Linked DNA regions of Homo sapiens: regions 1 and 3 are each linked to region 2. Evidence: promoter capture Hi-C in 16 types of primary human blood cells and fetal thymus (Javierre and others, 2016). All regions are on one chromosome and are shown on one strand. The core of a region is centred on a gene start or on the middle of the fragment in contact, and the rest is flanking DNA. Distances in the headings are between cores, read along the strand shown.

Region 1 (2,700 bases), core at 199-2,698, 530 kb after region 2:
TTTGAAGGAGACACTGTAAGGTCAAAATTCTTTTGCTGGCTGCCTCAAGCTACTGAGTGAAATCACATTTCACTGTATACTTTTGTCCTCCTTTCTAACTGATAGAGACATGCCAACTGTGGGGAAATGGTAAATATGTTAGATTTTCTTCCATTTTCAGACAAAAACGACTCTTTAACTGAGGGTATTATGTTTCTGATGTGCTTTTTTAGTTGCTATTTTTATGTAGGTTAAAAAAAGACATTTGATGATGTCTCGTAAGTATTTTTCCAACTTATACAAAGCTTTTCATGTAATAAAAACATCATTACGACACTATCAAAGACAATGAGCTTATTAATGAGTGTCAGGGATTTTGCTAATTTTTGGAGTTTGTATCAGTTGTATGATCTCTGCCTTAAAAATCTGATTTAGTATTAAAATGCTTTTTTCAATAATTAGTTGTAGCAAATTTAAACTTGTGAGTTTATATATTTTTTTTCTCTTGGTACTATGATTCTGGAGTTGATGATGTAATAGAATCATAATGGTAATTTACTAAAAGCTTGAATCACTGAATCTCAAAGAATTAAACACCAAGCTGAATGGGAAAATCAAAATAAAAGTTACTGTGTATTTCAAGATTACTTGAGAGATTTTTTAAATGAGAAGCTAGAAAGCAGATATCTCAAGCGATTTAAGTAGAATTATGTGAAACAAATAAATAACTTTCAGTATACCATTTCTTTTTAAGTCAGAGAAGCAGAGAAACTAAATACATGGACATTGGATAGGCCATCTTTAAATGAGAAGTCAGAATTTATGTTTCCTAATGAAATTTAAAGATTTAATAGAGATATTTAAATTCCAACTAAAATTATTTCTGTAGGCAGAGCCTATCACAATTGCTGAAATTATAGCTAGGAAATTAGCAAATGCCCTATCATACAGTAATTTATCTTTCCATTTTTTTGATGATATGGAAAATGAAACTTTTTAATCTTTAAGTTTCCATTAATTGATTGCATATTATAGAACTTTTATAAATATGATTCTTACATTAGACTATGAGGTAGATATTATATCTTTGTTTTACAGAAAAGAAAATTGAGGATCAGAAAATACGCACAATTTGCAAAAACCATGGGTGAGTAGATGGCAGAGTGTAGATTTGAAAGCAGTGTTGACTTTAAGCCTGTGCCTCCAGTAACCTTCCCATGATACACAGTCACCATTCAAAGAATATTTGTTGAGGGAGTGATTTTTTTTAACAGGATTAAAAATATAAAACAAGAAGGAGGAGGTATGAGGCAGCTATCTAAATCCATCCTTCCGCTGCAGATTTTAAAGCCTTTTTCCTTTTCCATCTTGCCTGCCTAATTATTTTATCATTTTAACACATTGATATATTCAGTGACTAATCCTTTACTGCCTTGCAAATATGTTACAAGCATTTTCTAAGTCCTAGAATTGAAAAGTAATGATTACTTAAAAAAAAAAAATCAGTGACTTCATTCAGGAAAATCCACTGGTATCCAGGCCGGTGGATTCAGGCTCAGCAGTAAGGTCTTGCTTTTTGTCTTCTTTGCTTTCTTCTCTAAAACATTTTTTCAAATTGAGAAATTTTAAAAACCGTGTCTATTTATGGTGCACAATATGATGTTTTGAAATATGTGTACATTGTGGAATGGCTACATCAAGCTAATTAACATGTACATTACCTCAAACAGTTTTCATTTGTTTGTAGTGAGAATATTTAAAATCTCTGAGCAATTTTCAAGTATACGACACGTTGCTGTTAACCAGAATCACCATGTTGTAGAATGGATATATTGAACTTGTTCCTCCTGTCGAACTGAAATTTTGTATGGTTTAACAATCCCCTATTTCCCCCCCCACCTCCAGTCCTTGGTAACCACCATTCTACTCTCTGCATCTATGAGTTTGACGTCTTTATGTTCCACATCATGAGATGTTTTGAGATAATGTGGTATTGCTCTTCCTCTGCCGGCCTTATTTCACCCAGCATAATGTCCTCCAGGTTTATTCATGTTGTCAAGAATGATAGATTTTTCTTTTCTTTAAGGCTTTACTTATACCACATTTTCTTTGTCATTTATCCCTTGATGGACAGAGGTTATTCCATATCTTGGCTATTGTGAATATTGCTATAGGGAACATGGGAGTGCATATAGCTCTCTGACATCCCAATTTTTATTTTATTTCCCCTTCTTTTAAGCATTTCTTAAAGTTCTCACCTTCACCTTTTATTATTCGAAAGAATTGTGAGTAGCAGTTGTGTGGTTCAAGAGCACACTGCAGTCTTCCTTGTGTTCATCTATATTATCTGGGATATTTTGTTAGTTCTGGTCTGCAAGCTTCAAGGCTTATTGATAGTTTGAGTCACCAAATAGCCAATAAGACCTTATGGGTTATAGAATAAACATTCAGACTCCTTTTTCTGGTCTTTATCATCCTTCGTAGTATAGTCCCAGTCTATTTCTTTAAATTTATCTCCCTCTATTTCCATAAATATTCTCTATCCTAAACTCATTGCCTAATTAATTCTTGAACATGCCACATGCATTCCCATGCTGCACTTTTGCTAAAACCAATCCTCAGCCTGGAATTCCCTTTCTACTCCTCTGCCAATCCAATCCTTTTTTTGCACATCCAATTCAAGTTCCACCTCTTCCCTAAAGATAGTATTTTTTTCTTGGT
Region 2 (2,700 bases), core at 42-2,541:
GTGGTTTTTTATTTCTTTAAAAAAAAATATTGGCCAGGCACGGTGGTTCATGCCTGTAGTACCAGCAGTATGGGAGGCCAGGGTGAGTGGATCACTTGAGCCCAGGAGTTCAAGACCAGCTTGGGCAACATGGCAAAAACCCCATCTCTACAAAAAAATAAATTAACCAGGTGTGGTGGCGTATGCCTGTAGTCCCAGCTACTCAGGAGGCTGAGGTGGGAGGATCGCTAAGCCTGGGAGGCGAAGGTTGCAGTAAGCCAATATCGCGCCACTGCACTCCAGTCTGGCTGACAGAGACAGTGTCAAAAAAAAAAAATCTTCGAGAAAATCCATTTGAAACAAGGAATGAAATTTAAAATTTGCATATATAAACACGTATACATATACATATCATGTATATACATAGGATTATGAGAAGTAGTAATGTTCTAAAAGTGAGTATGCATATTTTTAAAAATTTCTGTAAAGTTGCACTTGTAAGGAAATTCCTAGGTGTTATTTCCTAAGACGTAAAAGCAGTGTATACATCCTTGAAGCTAAACTTTTCTGAGATCTTAAATTCTCCCAGTGTTTGATATATGAGTACTCATGTCTCCAGCAAATTAACCTGAACTTAAAGAGCTTCCTGATAGCTTCTTAGTTGGGGGGTGGGAGTGCAGAGAATAAAAGGAAATTCATTGAAGAATAAAAGATAATTTCTTGAGAAACCTGCTCATCGGGACCCTGTTAACATCCAAATATCCCAAATATCATGCCACACTATTCTTCCCAGAATTAATTGTCAAGGACTGAGAAGGACAGGAGAACCTAATGCTATTTCAGGCTCTCTTGACAGACCAAGGAACAGTGAGGCATAAACTGGGGTCCCCGTGGGTCACAGGCAAGAGGTGGAACCCAAGATTCAACTCCCTTCTTGGAACCATCTACCTGGGGACTCCCTCTGGTTCTGTGGCTGGGAAGAGGGATGCCCATCAGCCTTCCCGGAATTCCGGGGGCACCCACAGGCCCTTACCTGCCTGGCAGCCAGGCACCATGATGAACGTGAGCAGTCCCCACATCAGCAGGTATGAATCCATCTTCCTGACCCTTGGGACCAGCCGGGGCAGTGAAGCGGAGGTCTTTCTCTGCAGAAGGCCCAGTTGCCGTCAGCCTCTTTTTGGCATCGCGCCGGAGGATGTGGGATGGGAAGATCGGTCCGCCTGGGCTGTCACCCTTGTGGGTCCATCCAGTCTCTATCGGAGTCAGGAGTTGCTCTCTTTAAGTATTGGGCTGGCGTGTTCAGCCAGGAAACTGCCTAGCACTCTCTTCTCTCATCTCAAATATAGGAAGTGTTTTTTTTTTTTTTTTTTTTTGATGACAATATAGTTTGCGGTAATTTTTCAAACCAGGTTTTTTTTTTCAAGTTCAATTGCTGGAGGTGTGGGCTGGGGTTGATGAGAAGGATTGAACTTCATTTATGAATCCTTTCTTCAGCTACGCCCATAAAAGGAGAGGGAGATTCCCCTGCCGTTGAAGGTAGGGTGAGCAAGCACTTCTTGGCAGTGGTCTCACCCAGCACTTCATAAGCTGAGTCCTCCCCTCAGGGCTGTAACGTCCTCAGGAGTCAGCCGGGACCACCTGGGATGAAGGAGCAAAGTCCTGACAAGATTCTGGTCAGGCAGCCTCCAATATTCAAATAATGGAGAAGGATGCGGCGAACTGAAGGATCCTGAGAATTCATAAATAATTCCCCAAGGCTTATAACCTGTACTAGCCATCATCATTTCACCACAGTGCCCTGGGCTCCTGAAAGTGCATTGTCATTTTATAAGGTGTTTTGCTTCCAGATTTCTTTCTCTTAAAGGATCATGCAAAAAGTGGGCTTTGGTTTTAAACTTTGGATTATTTTGTAAAATTCAGTCTTGCTTATTTATTGATCAGAGCTCTCTTCTGATTATTATGAAATGGTTGAGTGTGTTTTGCTCCCTGGAAATTTGTCTAAGACTTAAAGCCATTGCATAGTTAGAGCAAAACACAATTTTTTAAATACTAGAAAGCAAGCAAAGATATTAACAAAAAGAAAACCCTCCGGGCAAGCCAAGGAATTCAGGGTTCCAAAACACATCACGTTGACTGGGCCTGGTGGCTCATGCCTGTAATCCGAGCACTTTGGTAGACCAAGGTGGGTGGATCACCTGAGGTCAGGAGTTTGAGACCAGCCTGGATGACATGGTGAAACCACCGTCTCTACTAAAAAAAAAAAAAAAAAAAAAAAAAAAAAAAAATTAGCCAGGCGCAGTGGCACACGCCTGTAATTCCAGCACTTTGGGAGGCTGAGGCAGGCAGATCACCTGAGGTCGGGAGTTTGAGACCAGTCTGGCCAACATGGTAAAACCCCATTTCTACTAAAAATACAAAAATTAGCCAGGCGTAGTGGCGGGCGCCTGTAATCCCAGTTACTCAGGAGGCTGAGACAAGAGAATAGCTGGAACCGAGGAGGTGCAGGCTGCAGTGAGCTGAGATTGCGCCACTGCACTCCAGCCTGGGCGACAGAGTGAGACTTCCATCTCAAAAAACTTGTCAAAATATGACAAGATTCTCTTAAATTCCACAGCAGGTATAACTTCCTCTCTAGGAACGTTTCTCACTCTGCGGGCAAGTGCTCCAGTAGAAACTCCTAGTACTCCCACCAAAGTCACGCTCCTTTCTTCTTGGGCATGG
Region 3 (2,700 bases), core at 66-2,565, 580 kb after region 2:
GTAAGCTGAGCCCGAAAGGACATCGGGTCCCCCAGAGAGCCAAGCTGAGAGTCAAGCTGAGAAATAAGCCTGTGCTAGCCAATTTACTACAAGCTCCACTGAACAATGACTGTGACATCAGTTCAGGGACAAATAGTGGTGGTGGCCCACTCCTGGTTTTTCAGGATGGGGTTTCTCCACTCTGGCTGCATGGCTGGGTCACTACGGGAGCTTAAAGGAGTTTCCTCTGCATGGTCTACACAGAGGATTCTGAGTTAATACTTTTTGATGGGGCTGGAGCATCGCTAGCTTTGACAAACTCTTCTGGTGATTTCCATGTGCCCCCAGGGTTGCGAACCACTTTTTAGGGACTTCTGAGGCTCTGAACTAGTGGTTGTTGAAAGTGCTAATGTGTCCTGTAGAAAAACACTTTCAGGCCGGGCGTGGTGGTCCATGCCTGTAATCCCAGCTCTTTGGGAGGCCGAGGTGGGGTGGACTGCTTGAGGTCAGTAGTTCAAGACCAGCCTAGCCAACATGGTGAAACCCCATCTCTACTAAAAATACAAAAATTAGCCGGACCTGGTGGGACACGCCTGTAATCCCAGCTACTCAGGAGGCTGAGTCAGAAGAATCACTTGAACTCCGGAGGCGGAGGTTGCAGTTTGCTGAGATCACACCACTGCACTCCAGCCTGGGCAACAGAGCAAGACTCCATCTCAAAAAAAAAAAAAAAAAAAAAAAAAAAAAAGGAAAAGAAAAGAAAAACACTTTTCATCATATAAATTAATCTTACTACTTTAGCAAGAGCCCCAGAAAGATATAGCAGTGGTTAAAAAGGTGATATATAGAGGAATTCCAGTATCTACTTTTCTGTTGTGAAGTCAGAGGGACAGAAACCTAGTGCTTATATGCACAGCAACGTGGGAGGCAGATGTGGGAAAAAGTCTGGGATTCCAGTTTTCATTTCAGCTTAGAAGCTCCTTAGCAGTGAAGCTGTCAGTCTGTCCACTTTCAAATCTTGTAAGTCATGAAATCGCTCATTGCAACCTGGTGTTATTTTTTTCTCCCTCCCTCTTTGCCTCCCCCCTCCCTCCTTCTTTCCCTCCCTCCTTCCCTCCTTCCTTCCTTCCTTCCCTCCCTCCTTCCCTCCTTCCTTCCTTCCCTCCCTCCTTCCCTCCTTCCTTCCTTCCTTCCCTCCCTCCTTCCCTCCTTCCTTCCTTCCTTCCTTCCCTCCGTCCCTCCTTCCTTCCTTCCCTCCCTCCGTCCCTCCCCCTTTCCCTTTCCCTCTCTCCCTCTCTCCCTCCCTCTCTCTCTCTGTCCCTCCTTCTCTCCCTCTCCCCCTTTCTTTCTTTCTTTCTTTCTCTCTCTCTCTTTCTCTTTCCCTCCCTCCCTCCCTGCCCCTTTCCCTTTCCCTCTCTCCCTCTCTCTCCCCCTCTCTCCCTCCTTCTCTCCCTCTCTCTCTCTTTCTCTTTCTTTCTCTTTCTTTCTTTCTTTCTTTCTTTCTTTCTTTCTTTCTTTCTTTCTTTCTCTCTCTCTTTCTTTCTTTCTCTTTCCCTCCCTCCCTTCCTTCCTTCTTTCCCTTCCTCTGTCCCTCCCTCCCTCCTTCCTTCCCATCTTCCTTTCTCAAAGTCTATAATTTAAATGTTAATTGCATCTATAAATACCTTTACAGAAACATCAGTACTGTTTGTAGGCTAAATGTCTGGGCACTGTAGCCTCACTAGTTCCTCATGGAGGTATAAGTAATGTTCAGGGGTCAGTGCCTCTGGCCCAGTGATGGTGGTCCGTTTGAGAAGGGCCCTGCAGTGCTCGACCAATAAGGCAGCCTTCCCGGGTGTGCACCTACAGGCTTTTAAGTCACATTATTAATGGTGTGATCAGACCCACGGCAGGTCTACCCCTGGAATAATAAAGAATGCTGAAAGATAGAGGGAAATGAAAATGATAATGGAGGATTAGGGAATAATATTTCAATCAAATATAAATAAAATCGGCTTCTTCCTTGGACTCTTTTTTTTTTTTTTCTTTTTTTATTTTTAAAGACAAAACCTTTTTTTCAAATAGGGAAACTCAATTCTAGTAGACCATAGTGGCTGGCAACCTATTTTGAGAGAGATGGTTTGGAAGAAGAGCAGCTTCCTTAGGCCAGAACGAGAACCGCGCTGAAGCTAACAGGAGAGGTCTGAGGGCCGCAGCGCGGGGCCCGGCGGGCTGGGCAGTATGCTCCTCTCCAGCCTCAGGGGTGTGCAGGCTGGCTTGGCCATAACCACCAGAGGAGGAGCCGGTGGGAGACTGGGTCAGCTCCTACCTCCCGGGTCTATAAGCAGAAAACGTGGCTCACAGAAAACCACAGTGAAGCCGAGCCCCTTCCTGGGAGCTTTCCCTGCCCAGTGGTTGAGCTCTGGGGACTGGAACGGATGCTGTGGGTCCAGGACTGAGACAAGGTCCCTGGGGACGGGAGTGGTCCCTAGTGGTAGAAGTGGGGACTACACCCAGAATTCTACCCAGGTGAACTGGAAGAGAAGCCCCCTGGGCAAGCAAATATGCCTTTTTTTTTTGTAGCCTCACAAAGGGTTACTAGGTTTATTAGGGTGAGGATGCAATGAATTTTAAAATATCAGACCAAAATTTTTATAATCAGTAATTCATACTCACTGTGGTTCCCATACCAAGAGCCAAGAGCAGAGACACCACTTTCAGTAGTAGTGTGTGGGTTTGGGG

Evidence for each region. The method cuts DNA at HindIII sites, captures the fragments that hold promoters and counts their contacts. A CHiCAGO score of 5 or more calls a contact.
Region 1: a fragment that was not itself captured here is called in contact with the fragment with the promoter of IL2RA in region 2 in 2 of 17 cell types (activated CD4 T cells and non-activated CD4 T cells); the score reaches 6.0 in activated CD4 T cells.
Region 3: a fragment that was not itself captured here is called in contact with the fragment with the promoter of IL2RA in region 2 in 1 of 17 cell types (activated CD4 T cells); the score reaches 5.4 in activated CD4 T cells.

What each region holds. Positions count from the first base shown.
Region 1 is chr10:6,595,769-6,598,468 of GRCh38, forward strand. No RefSeq gene overlaps it. Among named protein-coding and RNA genes, the nearest start is that of PRKCQ-AS1, 17 kb to the left of the region's middle. The HindIII fragment of the contact is 1,813 bases long and covers 543-2,355 here.
Region 2 is chr10:6,061,076-6,063,775 of GRCh38, forward strand. It overlaps IL2RA (interleukin 2 receptor subunit alpha), which reads right to left and starts at 1,292. Exons shown (of 8, transcript NM_000417.3): 1 at 1,013-1,292. The coding sequence starts at 1,076. RefSeq lists an enhancer at 1,003-1,052 and a cis regulatory region at 1,045-1,675. The HindIII fragment of the contact is 7,385 bases long and covers 1-2,700 here.
Region 3 is chr10:6,645,676-6,648,375 of GRCh38, forward strand. No RefSeq gene overlaps it. Among named protein-coding and RNA genes, the nearest start is that of LINC02648, 28 kb to the left of the region's middle. The HindIII fragment of the contact is 5,986 bases long and covers 1-2,700 here.